2 separate regions of the Homo sapiens genome follow, and region 1 is linked to region 2. Evidence: promoter capture Hi-C in 16 types of primary human blood cells and fetal thymus (Javierre and others, 2016). All regions are on one chromosome and are shown on one strand. The core of a region is centred on a gene start or on the middle of the fragment in contact, and the rest is flanking DNA. Distances in the headings are between cores, read along the strand shown.

Region 1 (6,192 bases), core at 11-2,510, 540 kb before region 2:
GGCGGATCAGCTGAGGTCAGGAGTTCGAGACCAGCCTGGCCAACATGGTGAAACCCTGTCTCCACTAAAAATACAAAAGTTAGCTGAAATCACTTGAACCCAGGAGGCGGAGGTTGCAGTGGGCCAAGACCGTGCCACTGCACTCCAGTCTGGGCAACACAGGGAGACTCTATCTCAAAAAAAAAAAAAAGTGCACACAGAAGAGCTACCGGAGGCCACTTCTGGGGAACCTGGTGATTTGCCGGAGGGTGTGAGGATTGGCTCTCACTTTTACTTGGTAAACTTCTAGATCATTTAAATGTTATGCTGAGAAAAAATAAAACAGTGTTAATTTTTAAAAATATCTAATACACCTCATTCCTTAATCTGATGGGTTCTGACACTAAAAGCCATTGCCTCTGGAACCTAAGACGACTGTGAGAACACAAGTGACCACAGCTGTGGCCAGGTGCCCCTCCAGGAGAGCAGGCGATGGGGGAGACTTTGAGCTCCGCCTGCATGGCCGGCGAGACAAACGGATGGCAGGTGCAGTGGGCAGGTGGGAGTCGGGCAGTGGTCACCACGTGGAGAGGTGTTTCTGACTCTGAGGGTCACAGGGTGCACAGGAGGCTTTGGGGGTTGGGAGCGACTGCCTCCGAGGGCTGGTGCAGAAGAAGCCAGCGGGGGAGTCTGAGGGGGAGCTTCAGATGTGGAAGGTGGACCTTGTTGAAATGCATGGGCTGATTTGGCGGGTTCCAGGTGAAGAGACGTGGCCACCCAGGGACCACACCATGAGCAGTGAGCCACATGATATTGCCTGGGGCTCGAGCAGATAACCTGGGAGGAGACCACCCGGCCCTCGGTTATCAAGTCTGTAGATGGAGCAACCAGGTGACTGGGGCTGCCGCGTGAACTCGGTGTGATCCTGCCCTTGCCAAGCCTATCAGACCAGCCTCAAGCGCAAAGGGCTGTGGACGCCCCCAAAGAGTCTGTGACGTGCAGAACCACAGGGTCCATGCTGCCTGGGAGAGCCCCGACGGGATCTGGGAACTCAGGACCTGCCCCAGAGGCACTGCTGGATCCTGAGCCGAGACAGCAGCACAAACCCCTCTCCCCGCCCCGGGGCCTGGCCCGGCGCTCCTCACCCAGACCCCAGTCGGAGGAGCGTGGTTGAAACCTATAGGGAAAGAGCAGGTTTTCCGGTCTCAGCACAGTGAGTCTGTGTAACTCTAACCTGGGCCACAGAAGTCACGAGGATTTCTCCTTCAGTCCTCGCTTGCAAACAATGGGAGAGCAAGGGGACCGATGAACAAAATCCTCCCCCATGAGGCTGCCAGGGTCCCTGTCGGGAGGCCACAGCCCTTCTCCCTGAGGACTCAGGGGCCTCCAGCGGGGTGTGCCCTGCTGAGGACCGCGTTTGCAGCTTGTTGAGAATACTTACTTTTAGTGCTCCCTTTTTGTTTCAGTACATTTCTAACTATTACATTTACTTTTATTAATTAATTGTACTGGTTTTTCAAGTCTCGTTAGTTGGGTAGTTCATATTGGTCAGGTTTTAAATCAGCCGACTATTATGGGCTGCGCACTCCACATGGAGTTGGCCTTCACAGTCTGCATTTTAGTATTTCCTGAATTTAAAAATGCGTTGGATTGGATTTCTTGTTATAAATTAAACCAAATGTGATTGCCACCCCCTCCCCATCCCATTGACTTTGCCAGCTTTTCATTATGGAACTGAACATGGTAAAACATTTCATTTGGATGGGATTTCATTTTGCTCTGCTGCCAAACTCTAAGCAAGAATGGACTTTTTAAAACAATATTTTTTAAACCATTTTGTAAAGACTTAACACTGTGTTCACATTTTGGATGCAAAATGTATTTGGAAAGAAAGGAGACTCTTAAAGAGTTCAAATAGTGTGGAATTTACTAGTCACGTGCAATAATCACTTTTCAGATTTAAACTTAATATTAATTTTTAACAGTTCTCAGTAAGACACTGCATTTGTCAAAATAAACACCCTCTCATTGGAATGGGCTGACAGCAGCAGGAGAATGTGTTGAGAATGTGGGCTTTACCACGGGCTTGGAATAATTAAATCATATTGTATAATCCTTTTTATAGAAATATAAAGTTACTTTTCTTTGCAAAAGTTTCCACTCCTGGGGTCCTGGAGGCTCCTCCCTGAGACTCTCGGCACCCGAGGCGTGAGTTGGAGGTGACCTGTAGCTTCCACAGGACACAGATGCCCTGGGCAGGCGAGCAGGCCTGTTCCTAAACGGTCAGAGAGCAAGTACTTTCCACCTCGCAGACCACACAGTCTCTGTCTCCACTGCTCAGCTCTGCTCTTGTTCAAACGCAGCCTCAGACGATGAGTGAACGATGAGTGTGGCCACCTCTCAAGGTGATTCCATCTACAAAAGCAGGTGGTCACTCCCCAGCCCCACAGTAGAGGGGGCCGCCCCTTCCTGCCCACTGAGGCTTTGTCACAGGGCCTTTGTCACAGGGCCTGATGGGACTTGCTTGGGAGACCACCCTTGGAACCCTTGGAGTTAGCAAACACCTGCCTCAAGCCCCATCCAATCCCATCCACCAGGCTCCCTGGCATCCTGAGCATTCAGTGTGTGCAGAATTCAGACCAGCAGGACGTTTCCCAAAACCTCCACAGGGGACCTTAGTAAGCATCGAAGGGCACCTGTAATCCCAGCTACTTGGGTGGCTGAAGCATGAGAATTGCTTGAACCAGGGAGGTGGAGGTTGCAGTGAGCCGAGATCACACCACTGCACTCTAGCCTAGGTGGCAGAATGAGACCTTGTCTCAAAAAAAAAAAAAAAAAAATATATATATATATATATATATACACATATATGTGTGTATATATACATATATATAAATTTTGGATATATTTAAGTATATTTATTAATATTAATATATTTGTAAAAATATATTTTAGATGGGACCTGACTTCTCTGTAGCTCATTGGCTGTCATGACGATCCCGCCCCAGCAGTGTGTGCAGTTCTACTTTGTTCTTTTAAACGGCTGCCTGGCCCTCCATTGTACAAACCCAGCAAACCTGATGTAACTTTCCCTGTTCACAGCCATGTGTGTGCTAGTTTTTGTCTCACATAAACAAAGCTTCAAACAGCAGCCTTGTAGATCTCTCTCTTTTTTTTTTTTTTTTTTGTCCATTTGCAAGTATATTTCTAAGGAAGTTACCTAGAAATAAAACAGGAAAAGATGAGACTGATTTAATTTTAATGGATACCGAAATTGCCCCTGGACAGGCTCACTGTTCTTCCTGGTACCCAGTGTCACAATGAGGAGGGTCTGATGTATGTGTGGTTTTCTTCCTTTCTAGGTAAGCTGTCTGTTCTCTCTGGAAGATGGCAATGCTTTCTCTTGTCTTTGGTGTTCTCAGTCTCAGGTAGAATAGAGACTCAGAGCTTACTGGTCTGGGACTGGCCTGATTGTGTCGTTTAACCCCTTTACCCCTGTTGAGTCAAAGCCAGTGCTTTGTATCGTATCAGCTCTGAGATCTTTTATTAATTCTCTGTTATTCTTCCTAGAATTTTCTGTTTTCTTTCCTGGAAATCCTAGAGAAACACTGGATACCCTGGATTGCATGTAAGTGTCATCTCCTCTGAATTTTCTTTATTGTGGTAAAACACACACAGTGAACATCAGTGTCTACTTATCTCTCTGCATTCTGAGAGATTTCTTTGATCATAACTTCCAGTTCATTAATCTGGACTTCAGCCATGTTCATGCTGCTGACTTGACTTGTTCTTGCATTTTTTGCTGGAGATGTTCAGATTTTTAATTTCTGATAGTATTTTCATCTTTGTTTTTGGAGGGGCCCATCTGTTTAATCTTATGAATGCATTAGACTCTTGGATATCACTTCTGATACGAATTAACATTTTGCAATAATGGGCTGGGCATGGTGGCTCACACCTGTAATCCCAGCACTTTGGGAGGCAGAGGTGGGTGGATCACGAGGTCAGGAGATCGAGACCAGCCTGGCCAACATGGTGAAACCCTGTCTCTACTAAAAATACAAAAAAAAAAAAAACTTAGCTGGGCGTGGTGGGACGTGCCCATAGTCCCAGCTACTCGGGAGGCTGAGGCAGGAGAATCGCTTGAACCCAGGAGGCAGAGGTTGCAGTGAACCGAGATCGCACCACTGCACTCCAGCCTGGGTGAAAGAGCGAGACTCCGTCTCAAAAAAAAAAAAATTTGCAATAATGTTTCTGGGTCTCCATATCACTTCTGTTTCCCAGAGCCATCTGCTGTGCTTGCTTACCCCGTTGCTTCTCATGTGTGCCGGGGGGTGGGGCTGATCCAAGTATTTGGAGGCCCTGATGCTTACGCTGTGGAACACAGGACTAAGTCGATCGGCCGCCCTGGCTGCTGTGGCATCTGCATTTATGTGGATCTACTTTACTAACCTCTTGTGACTCTGGACCAGAAGAGACTGCTGGCATGGGCCAGTTAGCCAGGAGAGGCTGGACCCGGGGCAGCTGGGCAGGGGCCAGGCAGGGGTCCCGTAGCTTCGGGCTCAGCCACAGTGAGAGCTGAACCTTGCAGTGGAGCTTCCATTTCCTCCCCTCCTGGGGACTACCAGCTTTGCTACCCATCCGTACATTTAATTGCCTCTGAGTCTCTAGTAAGTGTTTCAGGAACTCCACGCAGCTCTTTCTCCCTGAGCCCCTCTGCTCACCCCATGGTCTTCTGGAGACAGGTGGTGAGCTCTGGACAGCATTTCCCCGCTTCTGCCTGGTGGAAACACCCCGTCTCATTGCTCGCGATGGGAACTGGGCTTCGATTGGCTCCGTTCTTCCAGCGCGCCTCCAGTCTCCTGATTGGCTTCAACCTTCCCCGGGGCTTCTTTCTCCCATATTTTGGGCTGCAGTCTTCTCTCTTCAGCTCAGTCGGATTCTGTCTTCATTTCTCACGAATGTGTCACAACTCCTGGACACTGATTTCCAATGTTCCTAAGGATTTATTATTATTATTATTATTATTATTATTTGAGATGGAGTCTCATTCTGTCGCCCAGGCTGGAGTGCAATGGCATCATCTCAGCTCACTGCAACCTCTGCCTCCCGGGTTCAAGCAATTCTCCTGCCTCAGCCTCCCGAGTAGCTGGGATTACAGGCACACAACACCACGCAAGGCTAATTTTTTGTATTTTAATAGAGACAGGGTTTCACCATGTTGCCCAGGCTGGTCGCGATCTCCTGAGCTCAGGCAATCTGCCTGCCTTGGCCTCCCAAAGTGCTGGGATTACAGGAATGAGCCACTGCGCCCGGCCAGGATTTATTATTTTTAACTTATATTTTCTCACATTTGGAGAAATGTTGAGTGGAAAGGAACCGTATGCACTTACTCGGTCTTCCAGTTTGATTTGGATCAAGCAGGAAAAGGAGCTAATTAAGTTGGGCATTCAAAGCTCTGAGGAAGTGACTTGGGATCTAAGACCCAAGGCACGAAATGCAAATTAAACATTGTAGAGGAAGGCGATGGGCTGCCTGAGCACTGAGGCGTCTTCCGGCTGAACGGAAACAAACGTAGGCCTCTACTTTAGAAAGAAAAAAGATGTAACAGCACGAAAGCTTAAGTATGCTACAAATAGAACAACAAAATATTAGAAAGAAGTTTTGAAATGCTACTTTTGTAACCTGGAAGTTGGGAGATCTTCCCTTAACCAGAACAGAAAACCCAAAACCTTAAAGAAAAGTTAAATATATTTTACAGTATCAAATTAGGTATTTTTACATGGCAAGTACAAATTATAGCAATCTAACAAGTGATAGACTGAGAAAAATGTCTGCAGTTCATATGATAAAGGGTTAGCGTCCTTCATAGACCAAATTCTCTTACTTCATGTTGAGAAAAAGTCAAGCAATGCAATGGGAAAAATAGCAAAGAACAGGAACTAGCCATGTGCCAAAGACGATCTACGGACAACTAATAAGAATTTAAAATGAGGCACAGTGCGGGGTTAGGGAAATGCGAACTCTGGCAACAGCAGAGCCTGCTTCTCCGCTTTGGAACAGCAAACATCAAAACTCCGCACCTCTGGAGCTGCTGAGGGTGCGGGGAATTAGTTCACGTTTCTGGCAGAAGTGCATACTGAAATGATCTTTTGAGAATCTTATCTGGCCTTGTCTGCTAAATTAAAAGTGAATGTGATTTATCCAGCGATT
Region 2 (6,326 bases), core at 3,229-5,728:
TCCAGCCTGTACCGTGAGAGCCCCTCTTACCTTTCCCCTGTTCAGCCTGCACTGTGAAAACATCACTTCCCCCCACCCCCAGCCTGCACCGTGGAGGCCTTCTTCCCCCCGACCTCCAGCCTGCACCTGAGGTCTCAAGGCTGGTGTGTGACCAGCCACCCATCCCGCAGTAGTGGCTTCGTGGCCACACTCAGGCCTCAGGTGCACAGTGGCCGGGTGGAGGACAGATGTGGGTGGCGTGGGCACCACGTCGCGGTGGGCAGGGGCTCCGGGTTCCAGATATGGGATCCACTGTCCAGGGAGCACTGCAGACTCCAGGCCAGCAGGTGCCCTGGGCCCCATTGACCCTTGCTCTGTGGTGAGGGCCATTGAGCCTGGGCTGGGGCCTCAGGTGACCAGGCTGAGGTCAGTTTGTCAGAGACCACCCTGACAAGATCATCGAAGGGAAAGATTTGGGGAGAAGTGAGCTCTCTGTGACTGATTTGGGGAAGCTGAATCTGCTGTATTTAGGGGAGAGGAGATGAGAGGGTTTTCTGTGAATTGAGGGTTTCTGTGTTTAGGGGAGAGGAGATGAGAGGGTTTTCTGTGAATTGAGGGTTTCTGTGTTTAGGGGAGAGGAGATGAGAGGGTTTTCTGTGAATACGAGATCGTGGCCACAGCTGGGATCTTCACGAAACAGGAACGTCGACTCTGTGGTACAGCGGCTGCATTAAAGCCGTATGTAGACTGCCACGTGGGCATAAATGTAGATAAAAAATCAACCAGAGTGTTGTGGTTGGGGGTGGTGGCTCTGTTGGCCAACCCAAGTCCAGCACGGAGGGCACTTTCCCCGGCCTGCGTGGGCACGGGTCTCACTGGGCAGTCTTTACGTTGAATGCGCAGGAAGAGACAGTCAGTCCATGCATTTTTTCCGAATTTGAAGGAAGAAGAAGCGTTGATTCCACATGGTAAGAATGTCTACACAACTCCTTTTTGGGTGTTTGTTTTGAGACAGCATCTTTCTCTGTCATCCAGGCTGGAGTACAGTGGCACAGTCATGGCTCACTCCAGCCTCGACCTCCCAGGCTCACGCCATCCTTCCACCTCAGCCTCCTGGGTAGCCAGGGCTACAAGTAGACGCCAGCACGCCCGGCTAATTTTTATATTTTTTATGGAGACAGGGTTTTGCCATGTTGCCCAGGCTGCAGCTCCTAGTTTTAACAATTACGTGAAGTTTAGCAGTCGTTCATAAGCATGGAGGACGCAGTGGTGTCTGCCGAAGACGGGAAAGGTGGCTGTGAACGGCTGGCTGCTGTTACAATCGATCCACGCAGGATCGAGAGAAACCTGCACCCCACCACACGAGGCTGAGAGATGCAGAGGCCGCAGTGCAGCCACTGAGCAAATGCAGAGGAGAAGCAGGCTCTGCTCAGAGCAGCGGCAAAAGCCAGGGATTGCTGAGAATCAACCAGAGACACGCCCAGGGTCATGATGGAGAGACCCGCAGGAAGGCAGAAAGGAGACCGAGCCGGGAGCCGCGAGGGTGCAGACGGCAGATGGTGCTCCAGTGCCAGCCCCCACTGCCTGGGCACTGCCTCCAAGGCGTGAAGGCCGTCAAGGTGGAAACTCCCCCCGGGCAGTGTAGAAAGCAGCACAGGGCCAAGGGAGCGCCGAAGAATCTCTTCTGGAAATTGACAACCTGGTGTAAAGCTCAGAGGAAAAGTAGCAGCTGGCAAAAGTTCAAAGAATAAAAAAAAAAGGCCTTGCTCTACTACTAGGCGTCGAGACTAACGAAGAAGCCATAGTAATTAATACAGTGTCGTTTTTGGTGCAAGAATCCACAGATCTCAACAGCACCTACCAGATACAGAAGTCGGTTGAACACCGGAGGCAGGAAGTAGCGGGGAGGGGGCGCGCTTGATGAGTGACCTCACGTGTGTGGACACAGCCAGCCCAGGGCCACCAGCTTAGTCATAAAAGCTTCCTGGGTTGAAACCTTAAACCACAGCAAGTGTTAGAGTGTCCCGGGCAGCTGGCCTGAACCCATCGCTTGGCATTTACGAGTCTACGTTCCTTTGATTTAAAGACGCTGAATGTGTAATAAAGCAGCTGCCATGAAATGTCATAGGTGTGAGAAAATCACTGTAAATCTTTACCGCAACGTTTTGCTACATTCTGTTACAATGTTGCTTTACAAGTCTTAGCTTTGAAGAGAACATTTATGTAGTTGAATACTTATGAATGGGAGAGCAAATAATATTCGCCTTTGGTAGTCATGAGTATATGCAAATGTTAAAAGCTACACAGTACCTGCTTCTTAATTATATCTTGTTTTCAAAATCATCAATGAGTGATCCTCACAGCGAGACAAAGTGAAGGGCATGTTCACACACAGGGTGAGAATGCTGATGGCACGGCCCTTAGGAAGTGTGTGAGTTAAATAAACTTGGATGTTTCATGACATGCAACCCGGTGGCTTGCATCAGGAGATTGATGGTAGAGTCGTTCATGAGTGGAGCAGCCCTGAAGTCCCCGCGCAGCTGGCGGGCAGGGCTGTTCTCCCTCCTCAGCAGCACCCCAGGTGGGGGCCTCCCCAGCTTTGCCCCAGCGTGGAGCAGCTGAGTTTAAGGGAGGCTAGTGCCAGACACTTCCAGTACACTGCAGGCGCTTAGCAATGGTAACTGGGTTTCGGTGGGCAAGGCATCGGCGGGCAAGGCATCGGCGGGCAAGTCATCGGCGGGCAAGGCATCGACGGGCAAGGCGTCGGCGGGCAAGGCGTCGGCGGGCAAGGCGTCGGCGGGCAAGGGGTCGGCGGGCAAGGTGTCGGCGGGCAAGGCGTCGGCGGGCAAGGCGTTGGGCGCGTCGGCGGGCAAGGCATCGGTGGGCAAGGCATCGGTGGGCAAGGCGTCGGTGGGCAAGGCGTTGGGCAAGGCATCAGCAGGAAAGGCATCGGTGGGCAAGGCATTGGCGAACAAGGCGTTGGTGGGTAAAGCGTTGGCCGGCATTTCCAGCTCTGCGTGAAGCCTGCTGCCCCCACAACCTTGCATGCTCTGGTGACTCTTAGCAGATCGAGCCGCAGCACAGGCAGCGAGGGCCCCGGGAGCCAGGGACGCCTCTGCCCTTGGGCTTTGGTGCTTTCAGAAATGCCTTCAAAGGGACTCTCATGATGAGAAGATCCAAGGCCCAATGCACCCTCTCCAGCCCCAAAGCCCCAAAGAGACCCCAGTGCCCCGAGGGTGGCAGTGACGGGTGTTTCTTTTTGTTTTTTCCATTTGTGCGCATTTCCTGCATTTTCTGCCTGTTGAGAATCTTTTCTTAAGCAGGAGGAAAAACACTTTAAAGGAGTAACCTTATAACAAGGGATAGTTGTGCGGGGCTCTCAGGGAAGGAGCTGAGGGCCCGGGGAACAGGCTGACCAAGCAGCCCGGCCTGGCCTGAGGAGGACCCTGCGGCCTGGGAAGCCCCTGCCCGTGTTGCCTGGGGAAGACCTGGGTGTCCATGCGTGATGTTGTACGTCGGCTCCCTGAGAGCAGTGATTCATGCCTGTCCCTACATCCTGTGTCGCCACATGGAGAGCAGAGTGTGACCCCTGCATGAAGAGAAGCAGGCACAGGGTGAGGGGAGGCTCGAGGTGCGTGGGAGCCTATTTCAGTCACCAATGCACTTCTGGGGGTGGTGAGTCCAAGGTCACTAAAGTCACCCAGACAGTTCTGAACATCCTGGCACCCCCCACAGGGCTCTCCCAGAGAACCAAAGCCAGGGAGGCGAGGGGTGGGCCCCCAAATTCCTGCAAAGAACCTCGGAGAAGGGCACCTGAGCACATGTCTGGACACACCAAGGCTGTGGTGAGGAAACCCAGAGCGGATTGTGTGTTCTTTAAAGAACTGACGACATTCAGATGGAAGAGCGCTCACTGTTTGTAGGGTGTGTGTGTCGGGCAGGGCGGCCCATTCAACCTGACGCCTGGCAGGAAGCTGCCCTGAGGTCCCGGAAGACCATAGTGGACCCCGAGGGGACTGGATCCTCCGTGCTGTGGGCAGTGGTGAAGCTGCCCTGAGGTCCCAGAAGACTGCAGGTGGGCCCTGAGGGGACTGACTCTGCCGTGGGCAATGGTGCACCCTGGTTTCCAGGAGGAGTGACTCTGCCCAAGCACTGGGGATGCGTGGCAGGCGCCTGGCAGGTCAGGGTGGAGACGGCCTCCCCTGCTTAGGGGTCTGCCCCAGGACGCAGGTGGGTGCTTACCTCCTCCATAGGTCTGGCACAGGTATGGGAACCGCCAAATGTTCCCCAGTCCCACGGCAAACCCAGTGCAGCTCAGGAGGTACTGGGCCTTGTTGTCCCACTTGGGCCTCTCATCCCCGAGGTCGCAGGCGGCCGGGTCCGGTTCTGGGGCATGAGCCATGGTGACTGAGTGCCCCAGGCTTCAGGGCAAGGGTGGTGCCTCACTCCACACCCAGCACTAGAGAGCCGTCTCCAGCCTCTGCCGACGTTTGGAAACCACAAGCAGCCCCACTGCAGTTGTATTTATTCATTTCTTTAAAGGAAAACCAGTGGAGTGCCGTTAATGGGTAACTCAGGTCCAGGCCCTGGCTCTGACGCCAGGGTCCTTCCCTGGCACCCACGTCCTCTGCTCCTTCTCGCATGCTCTGTGTTCCAGGCAAACGCCGGGCCTGGCACCACCCCCAGCACCATGAGGACCGTTTGCAAGGACAGCCTCAAGTTTTTTTGTTGCAGACACCAGGATTCCCAAGACTGAGGCATATTTTAATCGTTTTAAATTTCTTATGTTTTATTTAACCATTTGATCTTGAGATACTTATAGATTGTCACTCTGTCACTGTCAGAAACAACTCAGATCAGATCGCATGCACCCGAAGCCCGGATTCCCGCAGGGATCCTCTCAGCTGCTCTTGGGAGGCCGGGGGCTGCCCTCACACCCACTGCTGCCCTCGGGCCGCTGGGCAGGACAGGGTGACAGGCACCCACCGTGCGTGGGGGCAGAGGGCTGAGTCCTCTCCTGTGCTGGGGGCACCCCTGTCCATGGGTGGAGGGTTGATGAGTTGACGCCGGGTGAGTTCAGCTCTAAGGAGCTCCCCACAGTGCTCCCTGGACTCTGGGGCTCCTCCTTGCAGATGCTCCCGCCACGGACAGGCCAAGGGCCCCCAGGCCCGCAATTGCCCCATTCCACTGGACACTGCACCCCTCAACCGTGTGGCCACAACTCCAAATCCATGAGTCCCAGGGCAGGGGCCCAGGTGGACACATTTTTGGAAGGTTCTTATTTGAGTGAGAGGAAGTGTGAGGGAAGAAGATGAGAAGAGCTGGTTGGTCCCCATTGTGAGGCCACAGGCCTGGGCCATGGCCTCTTCGGAGCAAGCCCCCAAAGCCAGACCCCCCAGGAGGAGGCAGGAGCTGGACCTGCCGTCCCCACCATCCCGTCTGAGGTCACTGGCTCACTCATCCCTCTACGTCTGGACAACAGTAACTTCTAGGGTGAGCATACTCAATAGAAGGGATTTATTTAGAAATGTACACTTTATGCCCATAAAGCCTGCATTTCTACCACATTTACAGAGACATTGAAACCTATGAAACAACGCATGAATCAGGAGATGTAGATGAGATGGGAGCTCCCGCCCAGGGTCCTATGGCAGGCACACCAGGGTACACCAATGGATGCCAGGGCACATCAGTGCACACCTGTGCATGCCAGGGTACACCAATGCACACCTGTGCACGCCTGGCAGGGCCTCCTGGGCAGATGCCACAGGGCAGCATATTAATGGGGCACTGATGGAAATTTTCTCGATCCAGGGCCAAAGAGCAGGAAAAGATGAGGTGAGACCCTGTTGAAGCCATCAGCAGGCGAGCCCCTCGGTGGCATCACAGCCGGGGGCAGAGGCTGTGATATGTCCCCCCACCTCTGCTGCTGTGGAGTCTTGCGCATCCCAGGGCCCAGTGACAGTCAGCAGGGTGAAAGGGGCTGGTAGGGGACTCAGTGTGTGCAGTCACTGCTGGATGGGGTGCTGGAAGGGACGATTGTGACCAGGTTTCTGTGGGTGGAACATCATACTGGCACACACCAGGCTTTCAGTCCTGCCTGTAGGAATTCTCAGAACATCAGTTTAATGTAAGCGTCCAGATTCTTCTATGGAAAGCAGAGGTGACCTGTCCGTAGGAACTCTCAGAACACCAGTTTAATGTAAGCATCCAGATTCTTCCATGCAAAGCGGAGGTGACCTGTCCGTAGGAACTCTCAGAACACCAGTTTAATGTAAGCATCCAGATTCTTCCGTGCAAAGCGGAGGTGACCTGTCCGTGGAAGCAGATGTCCCAAGTGCCGACTG

Evidence for each region. Contacts are between HindIII fragments. The CHiCAGO score rates a contact against its expected background, and 5 or more counts as called.
Region 1: a fragment that was not itself captured here is called in contact with the fragment with the promoter of SLC6A18 in region 2 in 1 of 17 cell types (neutrophils); the score reaches 5.3 in neutrophils.

The regions. Positions count from the first base shown.
Region 1 is chr5:1,755,942-1,762,133 of GRCh38, reverse strand. No RefSeq gene overlaps it. Among named protein-coding and RNA genes, the nearest start is that of MRPL36, 41 kb to the left of the region's middle. The HindIII fragment of the contact is 3,721 bases long and covers 1-3,120 here.
Region 2 is chr5:1,223,533-1,229,858 of GRCh38, reverse strand. SLC6A18 (solute carrier family 6 member 18) reads right to left here and starts at 4,478. Exons shown (of 12, transcript NM_182632.3): 1 at 4,222-4,478. The coding sequence starts at 4,381. SLC6A19 (solute carrier family 6 member 19) reads right to left here. Exons shown (of 12, transcript NM_001003841.3): 12 at 4,748-6,326. RefSeq lists an enhancer at 3,542-4,084. The HindIII fragment of the contact is 4,471 bases long and covers 1,962-6,326 here.